2 separate regions of the Homo sapiens genome follow, and region 2 is linked to region 1. The links are contacts of gene promoters, found by promoter capture Hi-C in human tissues and cell types (Jung and others, 2019). All regions are on one chromosome and are shown on one strand. The core of a region is centred on a gene start or on the middle of the fragment in contact, and the rest is flanking DNA. Distances in the headings are between cores, read along the strand shown. Region 1 holds the start of CNBD2 (cyclic nucleotide binding domain containing 2). Region 2 overlaps CNBD2 (cyclic nucleotide binding domain containing 2).

Region 1 (5,399 bases), core at 1,929-4,428:
AGGTGATCCACCCGCATCAGCCTCCCAAAGTGTTGGGATTGCAGGCATGAGCCACCGCGCTTGGCCGAATCTTCTCATAAATTGTTTGTGGAATTGAATCGAACTCCATTTTATACATTATGAAAATGAGGCCCCAAGTAGTTAAGTGACTTACCTAAGATCACATAGGAATAGGACCAGTGCTCTTTTTGGCATTCTACCCTGTAATAGTTACAGTTATAAAATCAGGAACTGTAAGAGAAATGAAACTTTCTTAGTTTCTAGAACTGACTTAAATGTGTGACTCTGAATCCCCAGCCCACCTCCTTGCAGATAATTGAATTTAGGATGTCTTCAGGTAAATTGAGATCCAATCCAGTAATTTTGAGTGGATATAATTTCAGGCTTATTGATTCATCTTGGGCCCATTCATAGCTCTCCAAACTTCCTGCTTCTTCTTCCCCAAAGCTGATCTAATTCCTAGAGAAATTGTACAACCACAGCTGGCAAGAGGTGAGGTTGGCAGTAAACATTTTTGGGGTCTCATCAGGTCGTACTGGCATCATCTGATGCCCCTTGTGAGCCTGGATACTTTCCTTGTCACTCTTGGATCCTCAGGCAGTTCAGAGGACTGACGGGACACCCTTCCTGCCTATAGCCATCTCCTACCATCTCTCTTGCTTTCTCCAGGCCCAGTTGTTTCTTTCAGAAGCCCCCTACACTTTTGAAGGGGATCCTCTTATATTTCCTTCCTTAAGACTAGGTTTGCAGTGGGGGAGGCAAAAACTCCATACCTCATCTCTCTGTCTCTCTTTCTAAAACTTTCTCTTCTTTCTCTCTCTGAATTCTTTACATCTTTTCTCATGGTATGGGGGAAAAACCAGTTTTGTCCCTTCTCACCTCTGTGTGTGATTACTGTCCCACCCCAAGAGTGGCCTTTGTCTTTCTTCTCAGCTGTCCAGCCATCTTTGCTGAACTCAGTGTCCTTCTGTCTACCTATCAGTTGGAGGAGAGTTAACAGATATACCCCACGGGATAGGAATGGCAGAGCAGGTGATGCTTGAAATCACAGTTTTCTACTGAGGATCCTGGTGCAAGAGCAAATTGAGATACTCAATTGTCATCTTTAATAGAAAAAAGCACTTTAGAGCCTATATTTTTCTATATCTTTAGAAGGACTCCAGAGATTTGAGTTCTAGTCACCAAGTTCCATTCAATATTTGACACTTGATTTGGGTGAGGTCTTCTGTTTTGCTGAGTTTTTTTTTTATTGTCCTGATTTAACCAGACTTATGGGACAGTACTATGCACCCACGTTCCAGGGCCTCCAAGTTCTAAGTCTCAGAGTGGTCCCTGGGCTAAGGTGCTGGATGAACCTACTCCCAGCCTAGAAGCCTCCCGCTGTAACAAAGTACACCCATTTTTCTATGAGATAGAGAATGAGTTATCTTTTTAAATCATCTTTTTCTTCTTTCTCTTTTGTGTTTTTCTTCTGTTCCCCACTTCCTACTTAGCTGATTAGAAATGCAGTTATAACCTTTTGCTTTCCCTTCACCAGACACTCCTAGAGCAAGTGTATCTGTGTGCTTACTTAAAAGCTCCAGAGTAGAAACCTCTCCCACCAGATTGCCTTGAGAGACAATAGTCAATTTACAACCAAAAGTATGCCTGCCAGGAAACTCTGCCCCACCTGGAGAGTATCTCGAGACAAGGCCACTTTACAACCTAGTTCTGCCCAAGATGGTGGCAGCTCGACCAGGCGGTAGATAAGGCACCAAAGTGAGTCATGGAGACTCCCACCTGCTCATTCCCTCCTCTGCATGCCATTTATGCCAATTCCCCCTCCCGCTTTTTTTTTTTTTTTTTTTTTTTTTTTTGAGACAGAGTCTTGCTCTGTCGTTCAGGCTGGAGTGCAGTGGCACAATCTTGGCTGACTGCAACCTCTGCCTCCCGGGTTCAAGTGATCCTCCCACCTCAGCCTCCCGAGTAGCTGGGATTATAGGTGCCCACCACCTCACCCGGCTAATTTTTTTGTATTTTTAGTAGGGATGGGGTTTCACCACATTGGCCAGGCTGGACCAGACCTTGCTTCTGTTAATTGGATGCTACAAATGGAGAGCAAGTGTACCTGACATTTAGCTACACTGCTTTCTTAAAAAAAAAAAAAAAAAAAAGGCCCTGGCCAGGAGTGGTGGTTTATGCCTGTAATCCCGGCACTTTGGGAGGCTGAGGTGGGTGGATCACTTGAGGTCAGGAGCTTGAGACCAGCCTGGGCAACGTGGTGAAAGCCTGTCTTTACTAAAAATACAAAAATCAGCCGGGCATGGTGGCACACGCCTGTAATCCTAGCTACTTGGGCGGCTGAGGCAGGAGAATCACTTGAATTTGGGAGGCAGAGGTTGCAGTGAGCTGAGATTGGGCCACTGCACTCCATCCTGGGAACAAAGTGAGACAGTGTCTCAAAAAACAAAAAAGCCCTATCTTTGCAGGACAGGTGAGCCCCCAAATTGAGACTTAGCTTAGGAGAGTTCTTGGCTTTGCCCAAGGAAGGAATTCAAGGGTGAGCCAGTGGTGTTAGACAGCAATCTTTTATTGAATAGTGCTTCTCCTTGTGGGGCAGGGCTAACTCATGGGCAATGAATCCGGAGTCGATACCCAGTGTATGAGATGTTGGCAACTGTATTTATGCTCATCTCTAATCCCTTCTCAGCCTTTTGGCTGAGATCAAGTGTAGTATACGCATTCCTACCCACTTTCAATCACATGCAAATTAAGGGGCAGGCTAATGCAAATTAAGGGGCAGGTTAATGCAAATTAAGGAGTGGGTTTTTAGAGTTTTCTAGGAAAGAGGTAGCAACTTCCTGGTCATTGCCAAGACATTTGTACACTGTCATGGCACTGGTAGGAGTGTCTTATGTTAATGAGGGATGGGGACAGCTAGGGGGTCCTAGATCCTGTTTTGGTCAGCAGGGTTGTGCCATTCTCCTGTCTCACCAGGACTCTGGCAGCCATTTAGCTACTTTGAGCCCCAGTCTCCTATGTATGGAGTTGAGTAAAAGTTTGGGTGGTTGTGAGGATTAGCTGAGATAATGCCTGTGAGTATCCCATAAATGTTAGACTCCCACATTCCAATCCCTGTGTCCCCTGCCTCCAGAATCTTTCATTGTGACCTTAGGAGATTCTGAGAATGATTTTTCTCAGAGCAGGGCTTCCAGTAGCTGATGGTATGGTAGGAGGAGTGGAGTGGAGCTCTTGCCTTGTTACTGAGGAAATCTATTTGTTTCTAGTATTACTGGATTTTTGGGGAAAAATTTGTAGTCCTCCCCTTGAAAGGCAAAGGGGCTAGTTGTGCCATTTGCCTGCACAGGAACCATGAGGAGACATATGGTAACTTATGCCTGGCAGCTCCTGAAGAAGGAACTGGTGAGGAGGGGCAAGGGCCCTGGGAGGGAAGAGCAGAAGACTGAACAGACAGGTGTTTTGAGGAAGGTCGATGCAGGTGTAGGAGGGGTCTTGGATGAATGGTGGCCATCCTGTACCTTTTGGAGTCACAGCATGGCACAAAGGAGGGACCCCTGCCCTGTAGCCTACCAGCCCCCCACACTGGGCAAGCCATAAGCCACACTCAGAGCCACTGAGTCCTGTTCTGTACCCACTCTTCCTGCTATTATGAGATCCAGAGAGAACGAGGGAGGATAGAGTCAGGGTAGCAACATTGAGTCATAGGTTAAGCTTGTGAACTCTGGAGCCAGACTACCTAGGTTTAAATCCCTATCACCTATTAGTCATGTGACCCCAGGCAAGTTGCTTGGTTTGCTGTGCCTTTATTTTCTCCTCTGTAAAGTGAGATGATAATACTAGTACCTACTGCATAAATTTACTGATTAAATGATTTACATATCAGAATAGTGCTTTGGATAATGCCTGACAATAGTAAATTGTACTCAGTAAGTATTAATTTTATTCATAAAGTACCTTTCCCCATATTTCCATAGATATCTAATTTTTAAGAAATAGAACATTACAGGTGTAGGGAAAGCTCTTTACCATCCCATGCCCCTTTATTTCTCTTTAATAGTAACCACTTTCCTGAAGTTGGTGTCACCCTTCCTGTTTATATTTTTATATATTATCACATGTGTATGTATCCATAAACAATATATAGTATGTGGCACACTGTTTAAAAATGATACCATAAATAGCATCATAGTTCTTTTTTCCCACTCAAAATCATTTCAGCTTTATCCACATTGACACACACAGACTTAGTGCTGTGTTCAATCCTGTGACTGAACCATAATGTATTGATCCCTTCGATCCCTACTAATGAACATTTGTTTTCAGCCATTCACTGTTACACACAATGTTGCCATGATTACCCTCATGGCTATCCCCTTGTACATGTATGTTTCTCTGAAGAGGACATATAAAGTACATACAATTCTTCCATTGTGAAGTACACACATCCTCAACTTTATATAATGTTGCCAAATTGCTCTTCAACATGGTTGTACCATGTTTCCCAGTTCCCAGTGATAAGTGCAAAATAGTATCATGTTATTACTTTAATTTCCATTTCCATTATTTCTAGCAATGTTAAAAATGGTTTCACAATTTGGCTGGGGCATGAAGGCTCATGCCTGTAATCCCAGCACTTTGGGAGGCTGAGGTGGAAGGATCACTTGAAGCCAGAGTTGGAAACCAGCCTGGGCAACAAAGTGAAACCCCCTCTTTACAAACAATGTAAATATAAATACAAATGAATAAAAACAATATTTTCACAATTTATAGGTAATTTGAACTTTCCCTTTGAATTACCTTTGCTCATTTTGCTATTGGGTTATTTGTATTTTTCTTTTGATTTGTAGGATTACAAAAAATAAATTTTGGATCGTAATCCTTTGTTGATTATATGCATAGTAAGTATATTTTTCCAGTCTGTAGTTCGTTGTCTCACTTTGTTTATGATACACTTTAAAAAGAACATTCTCTTTTTTCCTTTGTTTGTTTTTATTTATTTTTTTGAGACAGAGTCTCACTCTGTTGCCCAGGCTGGAGTGCAGTGGCGCAATTTCAGCTCACTGCAACCTCCACCTCCCAGGTTCAAGTGCTCCTGGTGCCTCAGCCTCCTGAGTAGCTGGGATTACAGGCGCCCACCACCACGCCCGGCTAATTTTTGTTTTTTTTAGTGCAGATGGGATTTCACCATGTTGGCCAGACTAGTCTCAAACTCCTGGTCTCAAGTGATCAGCCCACCTTGGCCTCCCAAAGTGCTAGGATTGCAGGCATGAGCCATTGTGCCAGAGCTGTTTGTTTGTTTGTTTGTTTCATTTTGTTGTTGTTGTTACAGGGTCTTGCTCTGTTACCCAGGTTGGAGTGCAGTGGCACGATCATAGCTCATTGCAACCTTGAACTCCTGG
Region 2 (5,957 bases), core at 423-2,922, 44 kb after region 1:
AGAAAAAAAAGAAAAAAAAAAAGAAAGAAATTCCTTCCTCATGCTGAGCATGAGAGGGCCAGCCTGGACTTCCCACCCATTAGGCCTGGCTTGGCTGCATGGGATCATCAGCCCCTGCCTCCAGGAGAACAGCCCTCAGGTGTTTAAGGGGAGGGCCTGTATCACCTTCCTCTCCCAAGTCTCCTCTTTCGCACCCTCCAATTCCTGACAATGGGAGTCAGGGCTTGATTTTGAGTTTTCTCGCCTTCTGGGAAGTTGTGAATTCCCCAGGGAGGGGAGCCCTCCATGTGCAGAAGAGTGAGGGCTGATTAGCCAGGGCCTCAGGAGCAGACTGTGTTACAGATGAGCTCTCTAACAAGCTGTCACATTTCAGATCCAGGCCTGCTCAGTCGATCAAATGTGCCATGATCAATATCAAGCCTGGTGAGCTCCCCAAGGAGGCTGCAGTGGGGGCCTACGTGAAGGTGCACACTGTGGAGCAGGGAGAAATTTTGGTGAGTGTGCCAAGAGCTCTGTTCACCATGGAGTACGTAACATGAATGGGCTGGAATGTTAAGTAATGACAGTAAAGGTTTAAAAACACTTCCCTCCATATTTGATATTAAGGAATTATGTTGATTTGTAAAGATGTGATAAGAATAGGCCGGGCGCGGTGGCTCACACCTGTAATCCCAGCACTATGAGAGGCCGAGGTGGGCAGATCACAAGGTCAGGAGTTTGAGACCAGCCTGACCAACATGGTGAAACCCTGTCTCTACTAAAAATACAAAAATTAGCTGGGCATGGTGGTGTACGCCTGTAATCCCAGCTGAATCCAGGAACAAGGCAAAGATGTTCCCTCTTACCACTCCTATTCAACATTGTATTGAAAGTCCTAGCTAGTCCATTCAAGAAAAGGAAATAAAAGGTATACAGATTGGGAAGTAAGAAATAAAACTATCTTTGTTTGCAGATAACATTATTGTCTATGTAGATAATTCCAAACAATTTTTTTAAAAAGAAAAACCTCCTGAAACTAATGAGATTATAGCAAGGTCACAGGATACAAAATTAATATAGAGAGTCCATTGCTTTCCTTATACCAGCAATGAACAATTGAAATTTGACATTTAAAAACACAATACCAGCTGGGCACAGTAGCCCCAGCACTTTGGGAGGCTGAAGCGGGCGAATCACTTGAGGTCAGGAGTTCGAGACCAGTCTGGCCAACATGGTGAAATTCCATCTCTGCTAAAAATACAAAAATTAGCTGGGGCCAGGCATGGTGGCTCACGCCTGTAATCCCAGCACTTTGGGAGCCTGAGGCAGGTTGGATCACTTGAGGTCAGGAGTTCAAGACCAGACTGGCCAACATGGTGAAACCCCATCTCTACTAATAATACAAAAATTAGCCAGGCATGGTGGCACACACCTGTAATCCCAGCTACTCGGGAGGCTGAGGCAAGAGAATCACTTGAACCTGGGAGGCGGAGGTTGCAGTGAGCTGAGATAGTGACGTTGCACTAAAGCCTGGGGGACAAGAGTGAAACTCCGTCTCCAAAAAAAAAAACCAAAACCCAAACCAAAAAGCCAGGTATGGTGGCAGGCACCTGAAATCCCAGCTATTTGGGAGGCTGAGGCACAAGAATTGCTTGAACTCAGGAGGCAGAGGTTGAAGTGAGCCGAGATTGTGCCACTGCACTCCTCTTGGGTGACAAGAGCGAAACTCCATCTCAAAAAAAAAAAAATTAATAACAAATACATAAATTACCTAATATTTTTATAGAATCTAATTTCTAAAAAATTCAATTTCTAGGCCAGGCATCGTGGCTCACGCCTGTAATCCCAACACTTTGGGAGGCCACCTGAGGTTGGGAGTTCGAGACCAGCCTGACCAACATGGAGAAACCCTGTCTCTACTAAAAATGCAAAATTAGCCAGGCATGGTGGACACCTGTAATCCCAGCTACTCGGGAGGCTGTGTCAGGAGAATTGCTTGAACCTAGGAGGCGGAGGTTGCAGTGAGCTGAGATCGCGCCATTGCACTCCAGCCTGGGCAACAAGAGTGAAAATCCGTCTCAAAAAAAAAAAAAAAAAAGAATTCAATTTCTAAGAAATCCATTATGAAAAGGCTAAATATTGCATGATTCCAATTCTATGACATTCTGGAAAAGAAAAACACTATAGAGATAGTAAAATTATCAGTGGTTGCAAGAGGTTTGGAGTTCAGGAGATGGGATGAATAGGTGAAGCACAGGGGACTTTTAGGGCAGTAAAATTATTCTCTATGGTACTGTAATGGTGGATACAAAAGCATTTGTCAAAACCTATTTAATTTTACAGCACAAAGAGTGAATCTTAATGTATGCAATTTGTTAAAAAAGAAAAAAAATCAGCCAGGCATAGTGGCTCACGCCTGTAATCCCAGCACTTTGGGAGTACGAGGCAGGTGGATCACGAGATCAGGAGATTGAGACCATCCTGGCTAACATGATGAAACCGCGTCTCTACTAAAAATACAAAAAATTAGCCAGGTGTGGTGGTGGGTGCCTTTAGTTCCAGCTACTCGGGAGGCTGAGGCAGAAGAGTTGCTTGAACCCGGGAGTTGGAGCTTGCAGTGAGCAGAGATCGCGCCACTGCACTCCAGCCTGGGCAACAGAGCGAGACTCCATCTCAAAAAAAGAAAAAAGAAAAAAATCATCTAGGAGGTTAGTGGATCTGAGGAAGGAATACAAACTATGACAAGATAATCTAACCATTATAAATGTATGAAACAATCTCTGTGAAGGAGTTGGGGGGAAAAGATGCTGACTTAAGTAACTTTGGAAATGAGTGGAACTGGTAAGACTAAAGCAAAAGGAACTGTGTCTGAGCACTGTGCCCTAGTGATAAAGCTGTTTGTCATGAAGGTAGGGATTAACAATACTTCTACTACTATACATGTACACAGTGTTAACACTGAAATAAATCAGTTCAGTAAATGGATGGCAGAGGGTGGGAGCCAGGTTTTTCACAATTTAAGCAGGAATATATAGAAAGCAGGGGGAGCCTAGAATACTCCATGTAGTAATGGATTAGAGTTGAAAACATCAGTAGTCACTGAAATTTAACTCAATATATACTTACAGATAATTATGTATAGAAATATGTATAGGTAGGCCAGGTGTGGTGGCTCACGCCTGTAATCCCAGCACTTTGGGAGGCCGAGGAGGGCGGATCACGAGGTCAGGAGATCGAGACCATCCTGGCTAACACAGTGAAACCCCGTCTCTACTAAAAGTACAAAAAAAATTAGCCGGGCGTGGTGGCAGGCACCTGTAATCCCAGCTACTCAGGAGGCTGAGGCAGGAGAATGGCGGGAACCCGGGAGGCAGAGCTTGCAGTGAGCTGAGATTGTGCCACTGCACTCCAGCCTAGGTGACAGAGCAAGACTCCATCTCAAAAAAAAAAAAAGGAAATATGTATAGGTATGGGTGGAAACATACAACTGTTTTGCTCTGTCAGATAATAGGGCCTAAAAGAAATGTTACCCTTCCAGCAATGAGCACACTTAACACTTGGATCTTGGTTGGTTTCTTTTCTTTCTTTCTTTCTTTTTTTTTTTTTTGACAGAGTCTTTCTCTGTCACCCAGGCTGGAGTGCAGTGGCGCCATCTCGGCTCACTGTGACCTCTGCCTCCTGGGTTCAAGTGATTCTCCTGCCTCTGCCTCCTGAGTAGCTGGCATTACAGGCACACGCCGCCATGCCTGACTAACTTTTTGTATTTTTAGTAGAGACGGGGTTTCACCATGTTGGCCAGGCTGGTCTGGAACTCCTGACCTCATGGTCCACCCACCTCGGCCTACCAAAGTGCTGGGATTACAGGCATGAGCCACTGGACCTGGCCTCTTTTATTTTTTTTTTAAGAGACAGGGTCTTGCTCTGTCACTCAGGCTGGAGTGCAGTGGCAAGTGATCATGGGTCACTGCAGCCTTGAACTCCTGGGCCCAACCAATCCTCTCACCTCAGTATTCTGAATAGCTGAGACTACAGGTGTGTGCTGCCATGCCCAACTAATTTTTTTTATTTTTCGTTAGAGACAGGGTCTCACTATGTTGCCCAGGCTGGTCTGGAACTCCTGGCCTCAAGCAATACTCCCACCTTGGCCTCCCAAAGGGCTGGGATTACAGGCGTGAACCATCGTGCCTGGCCTCCATACTGTTTTTCATGATGGCTGTACTAATTTATATTCCCACCAATAGTGTGTGAGGGTTCCCTTTTTTGCAAATCTTTGCCAACATTTGTCATATTTTGTCTTTTTGATAGTAACCATTTTAACAGGTATGACTCAACATCTCATTGGATTTTCAATTTGTATTTCCATGATGATCAATGATGTTGAGCATTTTTTTCATATACCTGTTGGTCATTTGTATGTCTTCCTTTGAGAAATGTCTATTCAGAGTTTTTGCCCACTTCTTAACCAGGCTGTTTGATTTCTTGAGACTGTGTTGTTTAAGTTCATTATACATTTTAGTTATTATCCCCTTATCAGATGTACGGCTTGCAAATATTTTCTACCATTCTTTAGGTTGTCTTTTTACTTTGTTGGTTGTTTCCTTTGCTATGCAGGAGCTTTTTAGTTTGATGCAATCTCATTTGTCTATTTTTGCTTTTGTTGCCTGTGTTTTTGGGGTCATACCCCAAAAAAAACCATTGCCCAGGCCAATGTCAAGAAACCAGATCATGATTTCTAATACAGTTTCCCAATAAAAGGAACAAGGGCTCTTTGGAAGAATGGTTGAATCTAGGACTAGGGCAGGAAATACACAGGATGAGTCTAGAACATATTGTAAATGCCAGAAAGTAAGGAAGAGCTAGGGGAGGGGGCAGGAACTGCTTTAATATGGGAGCATGTCCAAGGGACATATGGGGGCCACCTAAAAGATCTCCCAATGGTCAAAGCTGAAACAATTTGAACAACAAAATAAAGCAGTGTTGGATTATAACCAAAAGTACAAAATAAACATTCATGAGTGCATATTGATATAAATGAATTAATAATGAATTAATAAATGGAGGAGAAGAGACAAATCTCCCTGCAGAATAAATTTCAAGCAATTTATGTAGATACTCTGTCTTAAAGGAGAGAGTGCCTAACTCTCTACTTAAATGTGGGCCATGCATAGGACTTCCTTCCAAAGAGTACAGTATGGCAAGGGGGGAATGAAGTAACTTTACAATGGAAAAAATCTGAAAAACACAGCCAGATCATCAAGGCCAACATCAACAGTAAAACATCATGTTAATAGTATTGTCCCTTGACAGGATGTGATGAAAATGTCATTTAACCTCTGTGGCCATCCTCTCAATATCTTATAACTCCTGTCTAATCATGAGACGTGATTAGAGGAAAATCATGAGACAAATTTTAACTGTGGCATCCCACAAAATACTCAATGAGTACCCTCAAAACTGCCAAGGTCATCAAAAATGGCCTGAGAAAATGCCACAGCCAAGAGGAGCCTAAAGAGCCCTATTATTAAATGTAATGTTGTATCCTGGATAAGATAGTGGAATAGAAAAAGGGCATTAGGTGAAACAGGAAATCTAAGCAACTCATTGACTTTAGCTAACAGTAATGTAGCAGTAGAGGTTCACTAATTGTAACAAAGACATACCAATGTAAGATGTGGGAAACTGGATGTGGGGTATATGGGGACTCTCTGTACTATCTTCTCAATTTTCCTGTAAATCTAAAACTGTTTTAGAAAATAAGACCACCAGGCCGGGCACAGTGGTTCATGCCTGTAATCCCAGCACTTTGGGAGGCTGAGGCAGGTGGATCACCTGAGGTTGGGAGTTTGAGACCAGCCTGGCCAACATGGTGAAACCCTGTCTCTACTAAAAATACAGAATTAGCCAGGTGTGGTGGCACACACCTGTAACCCCAGGTACTCGGGAAGCTGAGGCAGGAGAATCGCTTGAACCCAGGAGGT

The links. Contacts are between HindIII fragments. The study calls those that stand out against the background at their distance.
Region 2: a contact is called between a fragment that was not itself captured here and the fragment with the promoter of CNBD2 in region 1, in 1 of the 25 tissues and cell types used here (IMR-90 fibroblasts).

Annotation. Positions count from the first base shown.
Region 1 is chr20:35,965,412-35,970,810 of GRCh38, forward strand. It overlaps CNBD2 (cyclic nucleotide binding domain containing 2), which reads left to right and starts at 3,179. Exons shown (of 12, transcript NM_001365709.1): 1 at 3,179-3,402. The coding sequence starts at 3,352. It also overlaps the pseudogene LOC124904982. The HindIII fragment of the contact is 12,223 bases long and covers 1-5,399 here.
Region 2 is chr20:36,010,764-36,016,720 of GRCh38, forward strand. CNBD2 (cyclic nucleotide binding domain containing 2) reads left to right here. Exons shown (of 12, transcript NM_001365709.1): 10 at 374-494. Among named protein-coding and RNA genes, the nearest start is that of NORAD, 37 kb to the right of the region's middle. The HindIII fragment of the contact is 8,643 bases long and covers 1-5,957 here.